Regions from separate parts of the Homo sapiens genome. Here regions 2, 3, 4, 5, 6 and 7 are each linked to region 1. The links are contacts of gene promoters, found by promoter capture Hi-C in blood cells and fetal thymus (Javierre and others, 2016). All regions are on one chromosome and are shown on one strand. The core of a region is centred on a gene start or on the middle of the fragment in contact, and the rest is flanking DNA. Distances in the headings are between cores, read along the strand shown. Region 1 holds the start of CALB2 (calbindin 2). Region 2 overlaps MTSS2 (MTSS I-BAR domain containing 2). Region 3 overlaps VAC14 (VAC14 component of PIKFYVE complex). Region 4 overlaps VAC14 (VAC14 component of PIKFYVE complex). Region 5 holds the start of TRG-GCC3-1 (tRNA-Gly (anticodon GCC) 3-1). Region 6 overlaps VAC14 (VAC14 component of PIKFYVE complex). Region 7 overlaps HYDIN (HYDIN axonemal central pair apparatus protein).

What was found. Contacts are between HindIII fragments. The CHiCAGO score rates a contact against its expected background, and 5 or more counts as called.
Region 2: a fragment that was not itself captured here is called in contact with the fragment with the promoter of CALB2 in region 1 in 3 of 17 cell types (M0 macrophages, megakaryocytes and M1 macrophages); the score reaches 7.0 in M0 macrophages.
Region 3: a fragment that was not itself captured here is called in contact with the fragment with the promoter of CALB2 in region 1 in 1 of 17 cell types (M0 macrophages); the score reaches 6.0 in M0 macrophages.
Region 4: a contact is called between a fragment that was not itself captured here and the fragment with the promoter of CALB2 in region 1, in 2 of 17 cell types (M0 macrophages and M1 macrophages). The highest score is 6.5, in M0 macrophages.
Region 5: a contact is called between a fragment that was not itself captured here and the fragment with the promoter of CALB2 in region 1, in 2 of 17 cell types (megakaryocytes and M1 macrophages). The highest score is 6.4, in megakaryocytes.
Region 6: a contact is called between a fragment that was not itself captured here and the fragment with the promoter of CALB2 in region 1, in 3 of 17 cell types (megakaryocytes, erythroblasts and M0 macrophages). The highest score is 10.2, in megakaryocytes.
Region 7: a fragment that was not itself captured here is called in contact with the fragment with the promoter of CALB2 in region 1 in 5 of 17 cell types (megakaryocytes, endothelial precursors, M0 macrophages and 2 more); the score reaches 10.8 in megakaryocytes.

Annotation. Positions count from the first base shown.
Region 1 is chr16:71,357,255-71,360,514 of GRCh38, forward strand. CALB2 (calbindin 2) reads left to right here and starts at 1,469. Exons shown (of 11, transcript NM_001740.5): 1 at 1,469-1,632. The coding sequence starts at 1,539. RefSeq lists enhancers at 1,200-2,165, 3,192-3,260 and a silencer at 1,268-1,497. The HindIII fragment of the contact is 14,542 bases long and covers 1-3,260 here.
Region 2 is chr16:70,673,255-70,676,514 of GRCh38, forward strand. It overlaps MTSS2 (MTSS I-BAR domain containing 2), which reads right to left. Exons shown (of 15, transcript NM_138383.3): 11 at 1,052-1,274. Among named protein-coding and RNA genes, the nearest start is that of MTSS2, 11 kb to the right of the region's middle. The HindIII fragment of the contact is 2,596 bases long and covers 341-2,936 here.
Region 3 is chr16:70,694,063-70,697,322 of GRCh38, forward strand. It overlaps VAC14 (VAC14 component of PIKFYVE complex), which reads right to left. Exons shown (of 19, transcript NM_018052.5): 16 at 3,077-3,195; 17 at 1,482-1,561. Among named protein-coding and RNA genes, the nearest start is that of MTSS2, 9.6 kb to the left of the region's middle. RefSeq lists enhancers at 1-603, 604-1,429, 1,430-2,256, 3,083-3,260. The HindIII fragment of the contact is 545 bases long and covers 1,352-1,896 here.
Region 4 is chr16:70,757,576-70,760,835 of GRCh38, forward strand. The region is part of intron 12 of VAC14 (VAC14 component of PIKFYVE complex); the gene reads right to left. All of the region lies in intron 2 of VAC14-AS1 (VAC14 antisense RNA 1), which reads left to right. Among named protein-coding and RNA genes, the nearest start is that of VAC14-AS1, 4.1 kb to the left of the region's middle. The HindIII fragment of the contact is 2,360 bases long and covers 282-2,641 here.
Region 5 is chr16:70,776,050-70,779,309 of GRCh38, forward strand. All of the region lies in intron 9 of VAC14 (VAC14 component of PIKFYVE complex), which reads right to left. It overlaps TRG-GCC3-1 (tRNA-Gly (anticodon GCC) 3-1), which reads right to left and starts at 2,232; the gene lies at 2,162-2,232. It overlaps TRG-GCC2-4 (tRNA-Gly (anticodon GCC) 2-4), which reads right to left and starts at 3,060; the gene lies at 2,990-3,060. The HindIII fragment of the contact is 2,996 bases long and covers 1-2,976 here.
Region 6 is chr16:70,792,109-70,795,368 of GRCh38, forward strand. All of the region lies in intron 1 of VAC14 (VAC14 component of PIKFYVE complex), which reads right to left. Among named protein-coding and RNA genes, the nearest start is that of TRG-GCC2-5, 4.2 kb to the left of the region's middle. The HindIII fragment of the contact is 6,132 bases long and covers 1-3,260 here.
Region 7 is chr16:70,808,320-70,811,579 of GRCh38, forward strand. HYDIN (HYDIN axonemal central pair apparatus protein) reads right to left here. Exons shown (of 86, transcript NM_001270974.2): 85 at 1,464-1,688. Among named protein-coding and RNA genes, the nearest start is that of VAC14, 8.8 kb to the left of the region's middle. The HindIII fragment of the contact is 936 bases long and covers 1,062-1,997 here.

The DNA of each region.
Region 1 (3,260 bases), core at 219-2,718:
GCCTCCCTAGGGACTTTGGTGAATCTCTCAGCAAGGTGGATGGGTACCTCTAAAGCTAGCTTTTGATGACTTCTCCCCCCAGTCTGTTCCTGCAAGTAACTCTAAACACATTCACCCTAGGCAAAGAACAAGTGGTTTTGGAACCTGCATTCTCTATTGCCCCTTTGAGACTCGCTCTGGGCTTGGCCCTCTCTCCAAGGGACAACCCTCTCTCTGTCTCCTCCTGGGTTCCCCTCTCCCCCAGCGACCTCCTTTTCATTCTCACTTACCTCCTTGCCTTTCACTCTCCTCTTGGAAGGTGGTTCAGCTAACACTCATTAGCACATGTTAAAGATCGCCAATTCATGTCTCAGTCACTCCGTAGCAGGAGAGGGGAGAAAGGAGGGATGATGCTGTCACTCTGTGGGTAATGTGTCTTACCTTACCACACCACAAGGCCAGGACAGACCCCTAAGGGCTCAGACCGCAGGAGAGAATGGGGAGAGGGCCCAGCTCCCTGCTGGGGAGTCCTGTCTGCTGCCCTCAGGATGTGCGCTCAGTAGCTGCGTCTATTTTCTCTGAGACCAGCTCAGAACATCCCCAAGACAGAGTTGGACGTTGTTCTCTGTCCACTGGAGCAGGCACATTCCCACGATGTCCCTAGGTGGGCGTGGTTAAGACCTGGTACGGGTTGATCTAGTTCTGCCACCCCCTGGCCAAATGTCTAAAAGCCCCCCAGAGCATGGCCAGCGTGAGGCAGGTACCAGGGGTGGAGGGAGGCTCCGAGGGGACGGATATACGAAGACCCAAACAGACAGTGGAAGCCCCCCACCCCCACCCCACACCACTTCCATCGGAATCCTCCCGGGGCACTGCTGATTCCAGCTGCTCCCCACTAAAGCCTTGAGAACTCTTGGCTGCTCTGCAAGACTGAGCCCCATGAAGGAGCCACGTGCGGCGTGGAAAGAGTGCTGAGTTCAAATTGTAGCCCTGCCACTAATTTGCTGGGCCAGTCACTTAATCATCTGAAGTCACAAGTACCTCATCAGAAAAGTGGTCCCAGCTCTTCCTGCTGTGGAAGGATCAGAAGAGAGGAGGCACGACAGAGACCTAGTGAACTCCGAAGCCCGAGTGCTAAATATTTGTCAAGTTTGTGTTAGTATTACTATTAGTGTTGTTACTGCTGTTATTATTATTGCTACTGCCAGCAATAATAAGTGGTGGATGTACTCAAGACGGTCGGGAGGGAAGGCAAGGGCAGCCTCTCCCTCATTTTCACCGAAAATCCTCCGGGTGTCCCTGGCCCCGCGCCGAGGGGTCTCAGCGCAGAGGTAAGGGCCCTCTAGGAGTCCGGGCCGAGCCTCTCGCGCCGCCGCCCCCGCCGCGCCGCGCCCCGGTCGGATTCCCTGAGCGCGCGCGCCCCCTTCTGGCGGCCGGGCGCAGGCGCAGGCTCCAGAGCGTATATAAGGGCAGCGTGGCGCACAACCCCAGCGCGAGTGCCAGAGCCCAGCCGGCGCGGAGCGGGAGCGGTGCAGGCTGAGGTCTCCGAGCGGCTCGCCATGGCTGGCCCGCAGCAGCAGCCCCCTTACCTGCACCTGGCCGAGCTGACGGCGTCCCAGTTCCTGGAAATATGGAAGCACTTTGACGCAGACGGTCAGTAAAGCTCCCAACTTCTGTGCCCATTGGCACCCAGGGGACCTGCGGTGAAGGGGGCAGGGGGCGGCGCTGAATGCGGGCAGGTGTACGTTTGCCCTCAGGAGGTGGTCTGGTCGCAGAGCCTGCTGGGGTAGTGGTCCCGGGTTTGGGAGACATCCGGCTGCTCTGGGCACAACTGTCAGTAACTTTCTTCCCTAACATAGATGACCCAGAGCCCACCCGCATTTGCACCTTTATTCTGAGCAAGTGGGAGCTTTCTCAGAGAGGTGGCCTGGGCTGGGAAGGCCTCCAGGTTCCCCCTGCCATCTCCCCCACCTCCCCTGCCTTCAGCTGCTCCAGCCACAGGTCTCAGAAGACCACTCATTTCTTTCCTCCTCTTCCCCTTTTGTTGAATGCTAGGTTAGCCCCCTTACCCTGCTGGAGGCTGGGATAAATTAGGGGATCCTGAAGGGAAACGTGGCCTCCCCAGCTTGATTGGCTGGGAGCAGGAGTGGAAAATGGCATTGGGGGCCCTGAACACCCCCCTGCTTCCTTTGTCCATTTTCCAGCCGCCGTGGGCATGTAGGTTTCCCAATACAGCAGCAGTGGGTGTGGTGGCGGGCAGCGTTGGGGTGCCAGTCCCAGACCTGTTCCCTCATAGTGATAATCCTGGGTACTCTTGGTGACTTCATCTCTGGGTAGGGGGAGGCACCACCCTAAGTGCCTCAGTGACTAACCCTCTGCTCTGTGTGGTCTTGACACTGACTCACCCAAAAAGCAAGGGCCAGACCAAATGACCTTTGGAGGTAGCCCCCAGCACTGGGATTCCAAGTGTCTGTGGTGGTCTGACTCAGGCATAAAGGGTGGTCCTCCTTTAGAGGCTTTTGATATCACTAGAGACTCTGTTTCTGTTACTCCGAAAAAATAAGTGATCTGATTTCCCTCTCTACGCACAGACCTGGCTAAGATGAGCATCCAAAATATCCTGGCATCTCAGACATTTTGTGGTGTCTGTAGCTACCCTCCCCTCGGGTAGCTAATGGCTCCTGGAGGGGCTGACCCCAAAGGGAGGCCAACGGGAAAGGCTAAGACAGATGCTGTCTCCAGAAGACAAGTTCTTAACCACTGCACTGCACAGCCCCCCAGGGGGCCAGGCTCAGCCTTGTGGGCTCTGACACCTGTCATTCAGGCCCCTGTCCCAGATCTGTGTGGGATGACAGGGAGTTTATCCTGGGGTCTGAGAGCAAGGGGGATGGAAAACAGAGGGGCATCAGGTGTGCCTCACTCCATTCTTCCCTCCTCCCTTCCTCGCCTTGGCAGGGTGTGGAGGTGGCTGGGCAGAGATCCTCTGCCCAGAGTGCTATGGGGAGGCAGGGGTTAATGTCTGGGGATGCTAATGGGTGAAATTTTGTTTCCTTGGAGCCAACTGAGAAAGCTAGAGGGGTAGGGGACTAGGCATTTGAATACCTGAGTTAGGACTGTGATCTGCCTATGAATTACTGATGGAAGTGGGTAGATTGTTAAATCTGTAAAATGGGGCTAAGGAGGGATTGTGTTTCCAATCCCCAGCTCCTGCCATAAAATTCCCTTGGTACAAAGTGCTCTCCTAAGAGAAGTGCAGCCTTTTAGTATTCCAGATGACATGC
Region 2 (3,260 bases), core at 389-2,888, 680 kb before region 1:
AAAATAAATCCACATTGTAGACACGCTGTAGCAAAACTAAAGAGAAGGCCTAAAAGTGCCCAGAGAGAGACTCAGATTCCTCAGAAAGAAGCATCAGTGACTGACAGCTGACCTTCCAACCAATGGTGGAAGCCAGAACACAGCGGAAAAATACCTTCACAGTGTGGATGGAAGACAACTGTCACCCCAGAATAGTGTTCCTGGCAAAACGAACTTTCAAGAAGAGGACAAAATAAAACATGTTTACAGACAAACAAACAAAAACTGAGAGTTTACAACTACAGATCTATTCTAAAAGAACTTCTAAAAGATGTTTTTTACTTCAGAAAGAAAGAAAATAAGCTTTGGAGGATTTGAGATGCAAGAAAAAAATGACAAGAAATGTGTATTAACATATGGGTAAATCTAAATAAGTACTGTATGTATAAAATAAAGAAATTAAGAAGAAAAATGTCATTTGTGGGTACTGTAAAAAAAAAGAGAAAATAATATAGCTTGTAAGTTTGAGAAGGAGTGGGTGACAAGTAAAAAAATATATATTAAGGGCCTTGAATTACTCAGGAGGTGGGGTTGTGTTAAGTATGCATATGGTAAGATTTCAAGGTAACCTATAAAAGAAAAGAGACAGAATATAACTTACAATCCAGCAGACGGGGAATAAGAGAAAAGAAAAAACAAAGTCAAGGGTAGAGACAAGAATTCAGGACAAATAGAAAGAAGAAAGCCAGAAGTCCAAATATGTCAGTAAATACAAAGGGGCTAAAAATGGCAATTAAAAGATAGAGGTTGTCAGATTGGATAAAAAAAGAAAATCTAGGCATTATGCTGCTTACAAGAGACTCATTTAAGATATAAAGATATGTGAATTTAAAAGCAGAGATAGAAAATAATAATATAAATACTGAACAGAATAAAGGCCTTGGGGGCCTTCAGGCCAGTCTCAACAGCTATAGTAGTCTCAACAGCTATAGTAGTCCCGCATGTGGCTTGCCTGATGCTGGCATAAGGCTGCTGCACCCCACCCTGACTGATCCTCCTAACGCCCCCTCACCTGGCTGGTGATGTCTGAAGGCATAGGCGAGGGGGGCTTGGAGTAGGTGGCGTCCTGGGAGACGAAGCCAGAGTCATGGGAGGAAACGCTGGAGAGGCGAGCGGTGGTGGTGGCTGGCTGCGCCAGGCTGCGGTAGCGACAGGTGGAACTGGGTGAGTATGTTTGGGCACCCCCAGGCCATGGGGCTCCGCCACCCTTGGCACTGCTACTGCTGCTGGGGGCACTAGGGGAGTGAAGGAAGAGGGCACAGCAGCCAGACAGGGAGACAGAGGGGTGTGTGTTTGGGGGAGGTTGACAAACGAGGGTGGGGAAAGAGGTGAGGGGCAAAGGAAGGAAAAGACAATGTCAGACTAGGAGGTCCTGAGACCCAGGTGCTACACAGGAGCTGTGTTCTGGGACGGTGTGGAAGGGGAGGGCCAGAGCAGGGTACCCCCAGCCCCAGTGCTGAGGGGAGCCGTGGTCAGGGAATGCCCAGGGTGAGGCAACCTCTCTGCCTCCTATTCTGCCACTAAGAACAGTTGTCCAGGCTGGGCACAGTGGCTCATGTCTGTAATCCCAGAACTTTGGGAGACCAAGGCGGGTGGATCATTTGAGGACAGGAGTTCAAGACCAGCCTGGAGAACATAGCGAAACCCCATCACCACTAAAAATGCAAAAGTTAGCTGGGCATGGTGGCGCATGCCTGTAATCTCAGCTACTTGGCAGGCTGAGGCACGAGAATCACTTGAACCTGGGAGGCGGAGGTTGCAGTGAGCCAAGATTATGCCACTGCACTCCAGCCTAGGAGAGCAAGGCTCTGTCTTGAAAAAAAAAAAAAGAAACAAGAAACAGTTGTCCTGTCTGGGCGTGGTGGCTCACACCTGTCCCAGCACTTTGGGAGTCTGAGGTGGGTGGATTGCTTGAGTCCAGGAATTTGAGACCAGCCTGGGCAATAGGGTGAGACCCTGTCTCTACAAAATATATGAAAATTAGCCAGGCGTGGTGGTGCACACCTGTATTCCCAGCTACTTGGGAAGCTGAGGCAGGAGAATCGCTTGAACCCGGGAGGTCGAGGCCACAGTGAGCCATGATTGTGCCACTGCACTCCAGCCTGGGTGACAGAGCGAGACCCTGTCTCACAATGACAACAAAACCCAAAAAACCCACCAAAAAACCTATTGGTTTCACCAAAGATCTTAATCTAGATTCCTATATCCTAAAGAATATATCTTTATCACTGAGGCCTCAGCCTCCCGAGTAGCTGGGACTACAGGCACACACCACCATGCCCGGCTAATTTTTTTGTATTTTTTAGTAAAGACGGGGTTTCACCGTTTTTACCAGGATGGTCTCAATCTCCTGACCTCGTGATCCGCCTGCCTCGGCCTCCCGAACTGCTGGGATTACAGGCGTGAACGACTGCCCCCGGTGAGTCCAATCATTCCTAAACCACCTTCTCAAAATCTGGTATTTGCCATCCAGTCCTAACTGGATGTCTAGCATATGGTGATGGTGTGTGTGCGTACAGAGGTCACCTTCCAAGTGGGTCCTGCACCCACCATCACCCTCACTCTCTCCAATCCCTCAAGGGTGTCCAGCCCTCTATGGCTCACACCCTCAGCACAGCAATTCAACCCTTGGGTGGTGTTCCTGGCTAAGCGTGACCCTGAAGCCTCCCAGCCTCTGCCCCTGCTCATGGCTGTCCCCTGCAATCAGCCCCTTCACTGTGGGACGGCCACCCACGCAGGGTCTGAAGAGCCTCTCTCTGAGGTAGTAGCTGATTGCTGTGCCTGGCTTCTCCCAAGCTCTGGATGTCCAGCCAGTGATTCTGGGGAGAGGGGTGCCTGGCAAAGGGGGGCCCCCACCAGCACTTCACTCTGTGCTTACTGTCCTCCCCACCCAAGGAAGCTTGAACCATCAATGTCTCCTCCAAACCCAGCCCCAGTGCCCAGCCAAGGAAAGGCCCCTGATCCTGAGCCTGGCTAGTGACTGCGAGATCCTTGGCCTCTCCCCAGCTGTGTGAGGCTCCCGGGGCTAGCCTGGGCCAAGGCTCCAAATGCGGCAGCTGCCTCCATGGGAACCAGCTCTTAGGAGCCAGCCAGGCTGGAGTGTCCTATACCTTATGGCCCCAACACTTGTTTCTAGAAGCCTTCCCATCTCTCCCTGATCTTTGACTCTTACTATGACCCCACACGGTGCTAGGCCTGGCAGAGTCCAGTGGTTAAATGCT
Region 3 (3,260 bases), core at 374-2,873, 660 kb before region 1:
GCCGGTGGCCACACCAGCCACCTCTAGGATCCAGGCGACTCAGGGCTGGGACGGTGTTGGGCGAGACCAGGGTGTGTCTCTCCTGTTACCCTGCCCCAGCAAAGCCCTGGGCTTGAGGAGAAGGTGCTTGGAGTTCCTCCAGGGTCAGGGAGGGAGGGCAGTCATCCTAGGGATGCTTCTGGAATGCCAAGAATGTACAACTGGAGAGATGAGTCAGGACAGACCAGCAGCAGGAGCAGGGTCTTTTTAGGATCTGACCTCAGGCGGCCGTGTGGGTGCCTGTGTCCCTGGGAGGCCCTCGGGGAAGTGTCACGCTGGGCACACCTGGGACAGGCTTTAGCGCACTCTGCGGAGAGCAGGGTCTCCCCCCTGCTCTTCTGTCTCCAGGGCATCAGTTCCTACGGCACCCTGCTGCTTGATGAGGCTGCCCTTTGAAGGGGGCTCAGGAGGGGATGGGAACGGGTGTTCTTCAGCCCCTGCATTCAATTCAGGCTCCAGGGCTCAGGCTGATGGGCTTAGGCCGGGCGGGTCAGAGACGCTGCCAGAGAGTGGGAGAGGCCGGGTGGCCAGCTTGGCAGGGAAGGTGGCCACCAGCAGAGTGGCCTCCTGGCTTCTCTGCACATTATAAGCACATAAGCGTCATTCAAAGTGTGTATGTTGAGGTGCTGAGAGCTGTGCTCGCCCCAGCCAGCTGCCACTTTTGCACATTCAGCCTGGGTGTTACTAAGCAGGCAGCTCCTGCCCACTGGCTCCCAGCAAATGCCAACTCTTCTTTCAGAGAGGTACAGGCATGGCTCTTGGGCCAACAGGAGCACCTGCAGAGGGACTCGGGACCCACAACTTCAGAGAGCCAGAGCAGAGGCAGCAGACCCGGAGGGGTGGCTGGGGACAGCCCAGGGGCCTGGTATCAGCCTTCAAGGGGGTTCTGCTGTCAGCGCTGGCTCATGTCCAGGAGACTCACTGTGAGGGATACAGGCAGGATCCAGGTTCTGATGCCACGTGCCCCAGCCCTGCTCTGGCTGGCCTTGCAGGCCTATCATCCCAGTCTTTTTTTTTTTTTTTTTTCTGAGGCAGGGTCTTGCTCTGTCACCCAGGCTGGAGTGCAGTGGTACAGTCACAGATCACTGTAGTCTCAACCTCCTGGGCTCAAGTGATCCTCCTACCTCAGCCTTCTGAGTAGTGGTGACTATAGGCATGCACTCTCATGCCTGGCTAATTTTTAAAAAATTTTGTGCAGATGAGATCTCACTATGGTGCCCAGGCTGGTCTCGAACTCCTGCCGTTAAGAGATGCTCCAGCCTCAGCCTCCAAAGTGCTGGGATTATAAGTCTCACATTCTCAACATTCCAGAAGCTTCCCTGGGGTGACTGCTCTTCCTCCCTCCCCAGCCAAAAGAGACCAACTGGAGCTTGACTTCACCCACCCCACTCCAGGGCAGCCTTGGACTCATGGCGCGAGGTGTGGTGGGAGGTGGTTCTTACATGTGAAGATGGGGCACTCAATCAGCTGCACCAGCTTGTCCACCTCTGCGAGGAAGTCCACGGTGACCTCCAGGTCCCCACTGGGTGTGCAGTCAAGGAAAGTCTGTCTGCTGGGCCAGCACAGCCGCAGCTCACAGCACCACACGCCCTCCCCCCCTGCACCTGGCTTCCTGTGCACAGAGCCTGGTTGTGGTGAAGCAGGATTTGGCGCACAAAGGACACCAGGCTCTTCCCTGTTCCTCGCCTTTCTGTCCTAAATGGAACTCCCCTGTTCAGGAGTTCCAGGTTCCACTCTAGCAGCTGTCTCCTCTGCACCCTCCCGGGCTGGGAGAGGCTCTTATCACAGCGCTGCAGCCCGTTGGGGGAGGGCTGGGCAGGAAGGGTTCTCTCCTTTCCTGCCAGCAGGGCTGCAGCAAGCTTGCGGCACTGGGCAGTGGCCTGCCAGTCTCTGGGTGACAGAAGTGGCTGAGAGGAGCAAATCCAGGTTGTAGAAGGGAAGCAGGCACACTGTGGGGAGCCAGGCAGGGCCACACCTAGCCCTCCACTGAGGCACCTCCTGGTCCCTTCTTCCTTACTCCCAACTCCTGGCTGGTCATGTTGCCTTCTAAATAGCACTCCAATCCTGGGTTACATGTCAGGCACCCATGGATGGGGCTAGTTTGCTTACTGGTGTTTTAAAAAAAATCTGGCCAGGCGCGGTGGCTCACACCTGTAATCCCAGCACTTTGGGAGGCCGAGATGGGCAGATCGCTTGAGGTCAGGAGTTTGAGACTAGCCTGGCCAACATGGTGAGACCCTGTCTCTACTAAAAATACAAAAATTAGCCGGGCATGGTGGTGAACGCCTGTAATCCCAGCTACCTGGGAGGCTGAGGCAGGAGAATCACTTAAACCCAGGAGGCGGAGGTTGCAATGGGCCAAGATCGCCCCACTGCACTCCAGCTTGGGTGACAAAGCAAGACTCCACCTCAAAAAACAAAACATCTAACTCTGGATGCCTTTTGATGAGCGCAGTGCTGAGGTGAGAATGGGTGCCTCCTGCTTCTGAGGCCTCTGCCCAGCCTGCTTCTCCCCAGTGTGTCATCCTCAAGCCTGTCGGGCTCTAGCTCTGTGGCCCCCGAAGGCCCACGCCTGGGCTGAAGCCTGCAGGCTCACCCAGCCATCCACCCATATTCCCAGCTCCAGGCCTTCTCCCCCACCCCCACACCAGGCCCAGGAGGAACTACAATGAGCAGAGGGCAGCCACCTTCTCCCAGGGGCAGGAGCTGGGGTTCTCTCCCACCCCAGCAAGATGGTCCAGCATCACCCGCTGGCACCTGCCGGGCTGGGCCTACTCAGTCCCAATCCCAACCCACAGGGTTTCTCCCGGGCCAGCTCCCCCTCCAAGAGCCCCTCTTTGCTGCCAATCTCGCTCTCCCAAATACGTCCCTCCCCTCCCAGTGTCCTGGCAGCCCTGATGTCACAAGCCCTGAGGCTGAGTGGAGGGGTGGGGACAGGAGCATGGCACTTGGGCCCGCCTGTTGGGTGGAAAGGGGGCAGCCGGCCCCTTCCTGCCCCTCAGAGGCTCAACCCCAACCACAGTGAGAGGAAGGATACAACTTCTGGATGAGGTCATAGGCGTGCCGGTAGTTCTGGGTGAGGAAGCAGAGGGACACCGTGGTGACTGGGTTGTGGCACCAGGAGCGGTACAGGCAGCAGAACAGGTTCTGGCTCTCCTGTGGGGGAACAGGCATGAGCCGTGAGGACACGCCTGCTCCTTGCCCCTACCCGGTCCACGTGG
Region 4 (3,260 bases), core at 212-2,711, 600 kb before region 1:
GTCCCTCAAACACCCCTGAGGTCCTCCGGCCTCTAGAGACAGGCAGGAAAACAGAGAGCAGCTTCTGTCCTGGGTTTTGCTGCTGAAGCAGAAGCAGGGAGGACCCGGAGCAGATGCAGAGCCCATTGCCCTGATCTCAATGTGCATCTCCAGGCCCTTTACAGAAATGACCTCCTGCATCGGAGGAGCTACTGCTTATCGTGGGTTTATGTGTGCTGGGTCCCAAGGGGAGCATTTGACATTCATGATCTCATTTCATCCTTATAACAAACCTGGGAGCAAGCTTCCACTATTATTTTCTGTTTACAAATAAGGAACCTAAAGCTCAGAGAGGCTAGGTTACCAACCATCAAGTGGCAGAGCCCAAGGTGGACTCCTAGACTTCCTGAACCCAAAGCCCGTGCTCTTAACCACCAGGCCTCAGTGTCACCTGGGTAGAGAAGGAAGAACCAGAGAGGGAAGTCATTCAGAATCACATCAAAATTACAAAACACTGAGAGTACTCATCATAAGTGAATAAAACCTACAAAAAAAGACTCTAAAGCATTACTGAAGGACATCAAGATGGCTCACAGGACTGAGAAAGAGCCTGGCTCCTGGGTGGGGGAGTTCACCACAGTGAGACGCCAAGTTCCCCCAACATACTTGTAACGACAGACAGGTCATTATAATGGGCCAGGGTCTGGGTGAGGGGGTTACGCTTTCTCTTTAAACACGCCTATGAGGCTGGTGTAGACATCATTATCCCCTTTTCACAGGCCCAGGGAGGGTAAACTCCTTGGCCAGGGTCCCCGGTAAGGAAGGTTTAGAGCTAGGATTCAAGCCAGGGTCATGGCCACCTGTCTGGGATGTTCACGTTCACTCACAGGGGAATAGACATCCTTCCAGGATTTTCTGGAGACTGTGATCACCCTGAGAGTTCCAAAAGCAGGCTGGGAGGCAGCTGTGCCTAGGAGTTGTGGACTACCTGAGGTCCCACCATCGGGACCATGGAGAGGGCCCCCATCCCGTGGATACTCACAGGTGGGGGTATGGCCATCTTACAGGCAGAACTCACTCAGGCAGCATGGCGGCTGCCCAGCTGCCAGGCAGCCAACAACTGGCATCTTCTGGGCAGGGGAAGCAGCAGTCTCACCTCCCAAACAGGGACCCAGCAGGATGCAGTGAGCACGCACCCTGCATTCTGCACTGTGGAAATCAGGGTCACATTTTCACTTAAAAAACAATCAGATCTCTAGCTATGGGAGGATTTCTACTCCAGTGCCAGGAATATTAATTTGACACCTGCAAATTCTTTTTGACAAAAGGAATTTTCAGATAACGTCTGCAAGGAGCAGGTGGTGCTGAGGAAACAGCCACTTATCTTGAATAATGGGAAGGCAGAGACAACTGAGGATGCCAGAGGGTGGAGACTAACGAGGTGTCACTCGGTGGAACTGAGGAACAATGGCAGACGAGACACCCCAGCGAGGCCACGCACCCGTGGGACTGACAGAGATGGTGGTGGCAGCAGAGCTGGGTCTCTGAGGCTCTGCTGCGCCAGCTCTTGCATCACCAACACCTGAGCACACTGTCCCCTGCGAGCAGTGGCTCTCAGCGAGAGGGAGGAGCATGTGGGTTTATCACAACCATCCTGGGAGAGCAAGACATTTGCAACACAGATGACAAAGTGAATGTCCCAAATATACAAAGAGCTGCTACAGATCAATAAGAAAAGTGGACGAAGGATCTGGGGGCTGAAGGGGGAGCTTTTTCAAAGTACACATACCAGCTGGGCATGGTGGCTCATGCCTGTAATCCCAGCACTTCGGGAGGCCAAGGCAGGCAGATCACTTGAGGTCAGGAGTTCAAGACCAGCCTGGCCAACGTGGTGAAAGCCCGTCTCTACTAAAAATGCAAAAAGTTAGTCAGGTGTGGTGGTACATGCCTGTAATCCCAGATACTTGGGAGGCTGAGGCAGGAGGACTGCTTGAACCCCGGAGGTGGAGGTTGCAGTGAGCCGACATCACATCACCGCACTCTAGCCTGGGCGAGAGTGAGATTCCATGTCAAAAAAACAAACAAACAAAAACAAAAAACCCACAAAAACAACAAAAAACACATACACCTCTCCATACTCTCCACGCTCAAGAACTTCTGGAACAAGACCACAAAACCTTCCCCTGGTGAAATCATGAGGAAATGAGGAGGAAGATACAACCACACACAAGCTCGCCTCCTGCTGCTGACATGGGCTGGGAGCATGCTGGGTGAGACTCAGGCCTGGTGAGGAAGCGATTAAGGGCCCAGGCTTTAGTGCCAAACAGATCTGGCTCTGGGTTTGGGCTCTACCACCTCCTAGCTGTGTGCAGGTCATGTGACCTCCTCAGGCCATAGTTTTTAGAAATGCAAAATGGAAGTAAGACGACTCCCCGCAGAGAACCGTCGTGAGGGTTCTACAGACACAAGTGAAGGGTCTAGCGCGATTCCTCCCATGGTAATGACTTCCTACAGTTAAGAATCTTCCACGACAACCTGTGCCGCGGGGCTGCCTAGCTGGAAGTGAGAGCCTTCGCAGCGAGCACTGAGGTTAACTTCCATGAGTGAGGACTTTGGTAGGAGAGGACCTGCCTGTCTGGCTGTGTTCCTGCTTAACCTAACAAGCTTTCATAGTCTTGAATCCCAGGGAGCTCCAATTCGAGATCAGGGCTGTTTGGAAATACTTGAAAAATCCTGAGAGGGCACTTTCTAGATATCCTAGAAAGGAAGTTTCAGGAGAAGATGGGCTTTGTCTTGTTCATGGTTGTTTTCCCATTGCCAAGTACACAGCACACCCTCAGGCTCACCAAAGATTAAGCAGGGGACACTTAGGAATGTGATTCTGGAAAGCAACCGGATGGGGTAAGATCAGGACTCATCACTAATGATGAAGGTCCCCAAATCCCTCCTCTAGACAGAAGGGGAAGCAGAGGCTCTTCACTGCTGTTATGGTACCCCTCAACTGTCCCCCAGAGCAGTTTCCACACCCTCCCCAGTGCAGGCCCACAAGACGTGCCCCAAAACCCTGACAACATTTGGCACTTCAGCAAATCGAGTTTCCACAGCCACAGCCTGAACAGCGCTGTTTAATGGACTGCATCTCCGCCTGCTCCCTTTCAATGCGCACACACAAAAACCAATTTCAAGCACAGAAAGCTGGATGGGATTAAACAACTCAGTTTAAAGGACTGAAAACTCAGCTGCTTCCAGTGAAGTCCTAGGGAAGGAACCAATCAGCAAAG
Region 5 (3,260 bases), core at 229-2,728, 580 kb before region 1:
GAGCTAACATTTGTTAGGTGTTTAAAATGACACCCACCATAAGAACTATTGTAGCATTTTTTGTTTGTTTTTTAGAAATGGGGTCTCATTCTCTCCCCCAGGCTGTAGTGGCGTGATCATGGCTCACTGCAGCCTCGAGCTCCTGGGCTCAGGAGATCCTCCTGCCTCAGTCTCCCAAGTAGCTGTGACTAAAGGTGTGTGCCACCTCGCCCAGCTAATTTTTTAAAATTATTATTTTTGTAGAGACAGGGTCTCTCACTTTGTTGCCCAGGCTGGTCTCAAACTCCTGGCTTTAAGCAATCCTCCCGCCTCAGCCTCCCAAAGTATTGGGATTACAGGCATGAGCCACTGCACCTGGCCCATTTGTTACATAAAGGATTAATGGCCCTGTCATGGACTTTCACATTTTTCTTCCATTTCTTTCTTCTGACTTAAAAGAGCTCTTTCTTGTGTTTGGATACTAACTCTTTAATGACAAAATACATTGCAAATATCTTCTCCCAGTCTGGGCCTTGCCTTGTAACTTTTAACCTTTTTTCAGTTACACCAATTTTATTTTGTTTTGAGATGGGGTCTCGCTATATTGCCCAGGCTGGACTTAAATTCCTGGGCTCAAGGGATCCTTGTACCTCAGCAAACTGAGTAGCTGGGATTAAAGATACGCACCACCACACCACCTTCAGTTTTTAATTTAAATATGGTTTGTTTCAATTTTTTTTTTTTTTAATAATTTTTGCTTGTGGGTCTTGTTTAAAAAATTCTACCAGGTTTTTTTTTTTTTGAGATGGAGTCTTGCTCTGTTGCCTATGCTGCAGTGGTGTGATCTCGGCTCACTGCAACCTCTGCCTTCCAGGTTCAAGCAATTCTCCTGCCTCAGCCTCCCAAGTAGCTTGGACTATAGGCATGCACCACCATGACTGGCTAATTTTTTGTATTTTTAGTAGAGATGGGGTTTCACCATGCTGGCCAGGCTGGTCTCGAACTCCTGACCTCGTGATCCGCCCACCTCAGCCTCCCAAAGTGCTGGGATTACAGGTGTGAGCCACCGCGTCTGGCCCCTAATTTTTGTATTTTTAGTAGAGACGGGGTTTCACCATGTTGGCCAGGCTGGTCTCGAACTCTTGACCTCAAATGATCCGCCTGCCTTAGCCTCCCAAAGTGCTGGGATTACAGGCATGAGTCACCATGCCCAGCCATAAACATGTATTAAAACAACACTGAAGCACCCGTTAGTGTTTGTCATGTGCTAAGCGATTTACATGCAAAAATTTTGTCTGAAACACACAACCACACTATAGGTTAGGTATTACTATTGTTACCCTACTTAACAAATAAGAAATCTGAGGCTCAGAAAGGGTAGGCAGCTGTCTGAGGGGAACAGATATAAAGTCAGCAGAGCCAGGACTCATAGGCAGGTTGTTCAGACCCCAGAATCTCTGCTGCCATTCCTGAGACAATCAGGTCACGTCCTGGAGGGGACCAGGCTGGACACGCAAAGTGCCATAAGAGCTCAGAACCAGGGAAACGGCACTGTGCTGTGGATGGCCCCAAGTGGCAGGCCAAGGGGGAGTCGGAGCAAGTGAAGAGGCACAGATGAGGGGCTGCCCTGACTGGAGGTCCTGTGGTTAGAGGAGGAGGGAGAAGATGCGGAGGTGGGGCAGGGGTGCAAATATGCACACACACAAAGGTTCTTGCCCGGAGGTGTGCCATGAGGAACGTGGTGCTGTCGGCGGATCAGCACAAGTAAACAAAGAAGGCCAGGCATGAGGTCCTGTCTCCAGCCAGGTGGACCAGAGTGGGAACAGAGGGAGCAGAGAGGGAAGAGTGAGCAGGAGAGGCTGTGATGAACTTGTCCCTGACCAGCGAAGCTATCTGTCCTGCGGCTGGCAGGGACTGTCTCCTGGGCACCTTGGTAAAAGACTGGTGATTAGTTAGTTACAAGCTAAGCAGGGCTGAGAGTGGATGTAAAGGCGCCAAATTAGCTCTTACCATCTCTGGGAACTAGTACAAAGTGAGCTTTTCATCTGCTGAAATGCTGTTTATGAGGCAGTAAAATCCAGAGCCAAGAGGCATGAATGTATCCTGGTTAGGGTAATACTCTCCTGGGCAAGCAGCTGTGTGAAAAAATGCTTAGGAAAACCATCTAAAAAGGTAGATAGGCTGCACTGGCCGGGAATCAAACCCGGGCCTCCCGCGTGGCAGGCGAGAATTCTACCACTGAACCACCAATGCTCCAGCTGGTAGGGATGTTTTTAGTTGAGGCCACGACCCACAGGATGGAGTGGTTCCTTTCTAGCGGGCTTGACTTCTTGCCACATAAGCAGAAAGGTGGCAGGGGCTGTTGGGTTCTAATTTAGAGGAATAGGCACTGACTTTTTTTTTTTTAAATTGAGATATAATTCATATAACATTTCACATAACAAAAATTTCACCATTTTCAAAGTGTTCAACTAGGTAGTTTTTAGTACATTCACAAAGTTGTGCACCCATCACCTCTATTTAATTCTAGAACATCTCCATAACCCCAAAAAGAAACCGGGCATCTGTAAGCAGTCAGTCCCAATTCTCCTTTTCTTCAAACCCAGGCAACTGTTACTCTATTTTCTGACTATGGATTAAGAGGCACTGTGAACTTCAAACAAACAGAGCAGAAGGTGAAGCTGTGTTAAGTTCTATGATCTTAACTACGTATATATATTAAAAACTGGAAAAAATACATCAAAATTTGAACATTCATTGCCTCTTGGGGATAGTCTTGTTTCTTTGCATTTTTCTCTACTTTCCAAATTTTCTAAAATTAGAATTAGAAAACAAAAATCAAACACTCATATTTCAGTGAGAGGTCACAAAATATGTATCCCCGAGTCTTCTAGTTTCTCCCAGTAAAAAAAGCTCCTCCCTTTGAAGGCCCGCACTAGCTTATCCCTCCAAGTTAACTTATTTCTCCAAGTTTTCTTTTTCCAGGAGCTGCCAAAAAGCTTTCAGCTGCTGCATTGGCCGGGAATCGAACCCGGGCCTCCCGCGTGGCAGGCGAGAATTCTACCACTGAACCACCAATGCTCCAGCTGAGTGCTGTTCTGCCTCCAGCTGTTTTGTTGCTCTGATTCACAGTGGTGATGGCACAGCTGTAACCTGACACCTGAGATGGGTCCAGCATGGACAGCTGCTGGATTTTACCAGCCAAACCTATGGGAGGAGGTGGGGCATGCATGCTTGACATTCTGCTCAGCTGTTCAAAAGAAAAGTCCATGAATGGCAAT
Region 6 (3,260 bases), core at 268-2,767, 570 kb before region 1:
CCCCTCGCTAGGTGCTCCAGAACTGCCCTAGTCAGCCAGCCTGTGGTGTGGTCTCTACTTCACAGGGCAAGTGCAGAGACAAAAAAAGAAACTACAAGGGGAAGCAGAGTAAGTGCAGTTGAAAACCTGGGCAGCCCCAGTTCCAGGTTTAGTGTCTCTTCAAAAGACCACACTATCCCTCCTTTCATCTACAGGTTGGGAGCCAGAGGTGGGGGATCTGAGGCTGAACTAGTTTTGAAGTTAGTATCTGGCCCAGAAACTCTCACGATCACAAATCCCTGGAGACCTTCACTAATGTGAAGGGCATGGACATCGCTGTCTTATACACCAGAGCAGGGATCCACTTCTGCCTGGTTTCCTCCAAAAAGTGCTAAAGAACCCTGGCTGGAGAGGTGTCCTCTAGAGGCTGCTCAGAGCCTGGGTTCTCAGCTGGCCAGTGGCATTGCAGGATGGCAGGAACACCCATTCCCCAGAAGATACAAGCCCCAAGGGGGGCCAACATCATGCTCTTGACGCCACCCTCAATGTCTCAAAGACTGCCACACTGACTACCTGACAGGAGAAGCAGCCATGGACACTGCAAGACACATCTGGACTTTCATGAGCCAAGGGAGAGCCTGGGGCCATCCAGCACAGCCACAGGACCCCTTAGCTTAACTCTGTACCACAGCACAGTGACAGTCGCAAGAGACTGTCACAGGTCACATGAGGACTATTGAGTTGACCACTTCCTAAGCACTCACACTCTGCTGAGTATTCCAGGGGTCAGTTATTCCCGACGATACCTCCTGCTGTAGCTATTATTATTTCACTCCCATCTTCCAGATCTGAAACAGTAAATCAAGCCCCTTTCCTACGGTCACCAAAGGTCTGAACCCTTGACATCTACCAAGTCCATATCCCTTCAACTATGTCACAGTCCCTCCCTCCCATCTCCCTAAGCCACTTCAGCTGCAAACCAATTGCACCCAATTACAGATGGCAATTCCCTTGTGCAGAACTAAGGCCCCCAAGTGAAACGTAGCTTTCTCTATACACTTTCACACAGTGCTCGGTCATCGCCAAGGCACTCCTTCCATACACAGGGAGTACAGAGGAGGTGCCTACTTGAGATGTTTTGAAATGAGGCTCTAGCGCTGGTCTTCTGTGAACGCAGGACACAGTGAGTAACCATCAGCTGAGTACTTACTATTTGCCAGGCAACGTGCTGCATGTTTACATACAGGGTCTAATTGAAACCTTAAAACAAGCCACTGAGTTAAGTACCATTACACCCATTTTACAGTTTGTGGAAACTGAGGCTCAGAGAAGTTAAGAAATATACACAAAGTCATGCAAGTTGTAGATGATGGATCTAAAAATCAAATCTAGGCTTTTCTAACCCCAAGATCTAAAATCTTATCCACTATATTAGACTAGCCCCTCCCCAAATAGCACAGCTACCACCAGCTGGGTGCCCACTGTGTGCCAGGCACATGATTTCATTTAACTCCAATCCCATGTCATTTGGTGATGGCCCTATGTCCCAACCTCTGTCCTAGGTGGCAGAGGTTTTAGCCACTGAACTCAGGTTCCCATGTGTTCAGAGGGAACATCCTCAGCTGTAGGTGGGTTAATCATGACAATGACTTTACAGGGCTTTTAGAGAATTAAATTAGGTAACTGCATTCTGTGCTCTGTACTGCACATGCTCAAATAACAGTATTAGTGCAAAGTCAGAATCAGAGACAAGCTGTGATCTTATACATAGCACACGAGGTTGTGCTCATTCCATAAATGTTGGCTGGGCACCCACCAACCAACCTAGGTTGGACCTAGGAATGAACTGATTAGAAATGAGCAGATATGACGTAGGAATGAGCATGTACTGAGCATACAGTGGATCCAACCAGTGGAAAAAACTACAAAGGAGAAGCAAGAGTCAGTGACAGCAGGAGGCTTGTTTTGATCTCGGGTGACAGTAGTTGTGACTACTGAATAAGTGCTTCCCTCAGACTGTAACAAAACAGCACTAATTTAAATATTGGGACACAATTCACATACCATAAATTCACTCTTTTAGAGTGTAGGTGTCAGCAGCCTTTTGTATATTCACGAAGCTGTGCAACCATCACCACCGTCAATTGTAGAACATTTTTTTACCATCCCCAAAAGAAACCCTGCACCCACTGGCAGTCACTCCCCATTCCCCCGCGCCCTAGGCAAGCCCGAGTCTACTTTCTGTTTCTATAGATTTGCCTATTTTGGCCATTTTATACAAATAGAATCACACAATATGTGGCCTTTTATGGTTGGCTTCTTTCACTTAGCATAATGTTTTCAAGGGGCTTTTTTTTAAAATAAGAAAACTGAGGCACAAAGAGGTTAAATCAGAGATCATAAACTCAAATGCCCACACGGGCCAGGCAGGAGATATGGGGGAAGCCAGGAGGTAAAACAGGCTCTGGTTAATCTGCCAACAGGTGGCAAAGCTCCCGACGATTTGCTTTGCAGGAATGCGGGCCCCCAAAGCCACATCTCCCAAGTCCGTAAGATAATCCAGAAACCTGAATTTCACTGTGAAATTTCTCAATTTAAAATACTTTGTGATCCAGGCCAAACCAAACAGGTCTGCGTGTAGGTCACAGCCCCCAGGGGCCAGCCTGTGACCCCGGAATTAAACAATTTAAACAGGGTCCCACTGCTGATAAACAGCCAAGCTGGGTGGAATTCTGACCTGCACTCCAAAAATTACCTTGAGCCACTGGGTAATAAATACAGTTATGTGCCACATAAGGACATTTTGGTCAACAACAGACTGCATATTCCACAGTGGACCCGTAAGATGATAATGTTATATTTTTACTATACTATTTCTATGTTCAGATATATTGGGGTACACACATACCACTGTGTTACAACTGCCTAACTATTCAGCAGTCACATGCTGTGCAGGTTTGTAGACTAGGGACAATAGGCTCTACCATATAGCCTAGTGTGTGGCAGACTGCACCATCTAGGTTTGTGTGAGTAACTCTATGTTGTTCACACAATGATGAAACTGCCCAACAACACACTTCTCAGAATGCATCCCCTGAGCCGGGCGCAGTGGCTCATGCCTGTAATCCCAGCACTTTGGGAGGCTGAGGCGGGTGGATCACGAGGTCAGGAGATCGGGACCATCCTGCCTAACATGGTGAAACCCGATCTCTACTAAAAATTAAAACAACAACAACAACAAAAAACAACCAAAAAAATTAGCCGGGCGTTGTGGTGGGCGC
Region 7 (3,260 bases), core at 280-2,779, 550 kb before region 1:
AGGGCAGTCATGGATGCTGATCCCCTATATTCGGTTCTTTCCTTCCATGTACATGGAAGACCAAACATTCTGGTTCCTTGCAGATGGGTGGTGCTAGTTCCAGACAACTAGCTGTGAGCAGAAGTGAAAGGTGTCACTTCCATGCTAGAGCCTTTCATTGCCAATTTAACTCCTGTCAGGGTCCTTTCACCACTCTAATACTGTACTGGAAATATTTGAGATGGTGCTTGAATCCCAAGAGACTGAGATGAGCAGGGTCCCCTGCTGGCCTCTCTGGAAAATTGCTCAAATGAGAAACAAGCCTTCATCTTAAGCCCCTGTGATTGCTACTGCACCTAACCTAGCATCTCTTGGCTGATACAACTGATCAAGAGCCTCTGCCTCTTGGCTACAGCCACAAGATCTCTGATTTTACCTGGGCATGTGACTGCCCAGTACAAAAGCTACCTTTCCTAGCTCCTTTGTTGATAGGTGTGGTCCTGTGAAGTTTTGTTCCATGGAATATTAGTAGAGGTGATATATACAACTGTCCCCTCTTCCCTTGTAGCTGGCTGGAATGTGGATGTCCTGATAAACCATCTTGGCCCACGTGGACCAAAACAGCTCCCTTCAGAGGGCAGAGCATCGGGACAGAAGATGTCTGGGTGCCTGGTGTCAGCGAGCTGCCATTCCAGCTCAAACTGCTTATGCCCAGACTGTTATTTGTGAGAGAAACCAACACCTAATTTGCTGTTATTTGTGGTTTCTGTTTTTTAGAATTTTATTTTATGTTTTTAAATAGAGATGAGGTCTCGCTATGTTGCCCAGGCTGGTCTTCAACTCCTGGCTATAGCGATCTTCCCACCTGAGCCTCCCAAAGTGCTAGGATTGCAGATGTGAACCACTGTGTCTAGCTTTGGGTTTCTGTTTTAGTAGTTGAACCTATATTCCAACTGATGTAACAGCTAATGTATATGGAGCACTTACTATAGGCTAGGCTCTAAGAAAATGGCTTTAGATACATATTTAAAATCCTTATAGCAATCCTGCAAGGTTGGGGGTATTATCCCCATTTATAAATAAGCTTAGAGAGCTTAAGCAAATTATTCATACAAAGAGTAAGTGGTGAAGCCAGGACTCAAACCCATGTCTGTTTGATTCCACAGCCGATACCATGACTACTAAGCTATACTGTCTCCCTCTGTGGATCACTGGGCGTGCTGTGTGAAACAAAACTCCCCTACACTCCATCACAGCTTGTTAAGACAGAAAGTCTGTAATGGAAGAACCCAGGCCTGGTGCTGTTTGTTTCTAGCTGGGAGTTTCCAGGCTAGATTCAGGCCTCTGAGGCAGGTGTCACCATGACAACGAAGCACCTGAGTCTCTCTGAGTCTCACATTCATGCTCCCTGTGTCTCCTCTCATTGTTTTTGAACCCAGCGTTCATGTGAGGGAAGGGCAGAAGGTAGAGCAGGGGCCACTCACCCTGCAGTAGTATTCTGTCCTCTGCCGTGTGTAATTGATGAACTTCACAAGGATGATTTGGCTGCTGCCAAGGACAGTCTGGAAGTGAACAGGCTTTTCCGGAAGTGCTGGCGTGGCTTTCAGATAGAGCTCATATTGGTAGTAACCCAAGTCAGTGTTGTGCAAAGTTAGTCTTCCGAAGGTTTCTCCAGCTTTCAGGGGCTGAAATTCAAATGAGAACGTGCCCTGGAAGAGAAAACAGAGGATCCTGTCATGCTGAAAGGCTAATTCATCACCTGCCACCTAGAGACCTGCCCAAGGCTCCATAGCAGGTTGGGGGCAGAAATAGTGCACATGATCATGCTGTTCTTGCTCCTGGGGAACCTGTCCAAACCAGCCCACCCTCTCTCCCCTGTACCTCTCCTAGCTTTCTCTAGTTCAGGTGATTCTATATCTGGGATCTCTATGAATCTAAGTGCAGGTGCTGGACTGTCTCCTGAGAAGCGCACATAGGGAGATGTGGAGATGGGTGAGTGCTGCCAGTAGGAGGGCTGAAGCTTAGGCAGCTCCTTCTTTGCTCATGGCCAATCTCAGAACAGCGTCCTGGGTTCTGCCATCCTCCATTATTACCCATGGCGAAACAAAGCAAGAACAGAAAGCATTTCTTATATAGCAAAACAAGGGAAACAATTCGAATGTATTATTAGTAGAAGATTAGTTAAACAAATTACAGTTTTCTCATTTCAGTGGAATATTGTGTAGCCACTAGAAAGGATGAGGTAGAGCGGGGCCTGGTGCGGTGGCTCATGCCTGTAATCCTAGCACTTTGGGAGGCTGAGGCGGGTGGATCACAAGGTCAGGAGTTCGAAACCAGGCTGACCAACATGGTGAAACCCCATTTCTAAAAAAAACAGAAAAATTAGCTGGGCGCAGTGGTGCGCACCTGTAGTCCCAGCTACTCGGGAGGCTGAGGCAGGAGAATCACTTGAACCCGGGAAGGAGAGGTTGCAGTGAGCCAAGATCGTGTCACTCTAGTCCACAGCCTGGGCAACAGAGTGAGACTCCGTCTCAAAAAAAAAACCAGAGGTGTAGAGCAATACACATCGAAATGAAAGGTGTTGATGTTGATGATATTTTAAGTGGAAGAAAGCAGGTTCCAGAAATGCATATATAGTATGAGCTCTTTTTTGTGAAGAATATGTCTATGGATGTATAGAAAGAGACTGTAAGAATATATACCACACTGTTACCAGTAGTTATGTTAGGGTGGGAAAATGGGATTCTGGAGACTTATTTTCAATTTCATATACTTTTATATAGGTAAAATTTGGTTTTACTATGAGTAAGTATTTAAAAAAATAACTAGTTCTTATTGAAAAATATCAGAGGCTGGGCTCAGTGGCTCACACCTGTGCTTTGGGTGAGTGAGGCAGGAAGATCACTTGAGCCCAGGAGTTTGAGACCAGCCTGGGCAGCATAGCGAGAGCCTGTTTCTACAAACAACAACAACAACAACAACAACAAAATTAGCTGAGTGTAGCAGCACACACCTGTAGTCCTAGCTACTCAGGAGGCTGAGGCAGGAGGAGGCCTTGATTGTAGGAGTTTAAGGCTGCAGGGAGCTATGATCATACCACTGCACTCCAGCCTGGAAGACGCAGTGAGACCCCATCTCTAAAAAAGTTTTTTAAAAAAGAAAAATATCAGAATAAAAAGAGGATATCGCTGAAGTTATAGTTGTTTAACAAAAAAGAATATAGTATAAGAATTTAGATAATTTTACCACAATTTAAAAACTAGATAAAATAGACATGTGTA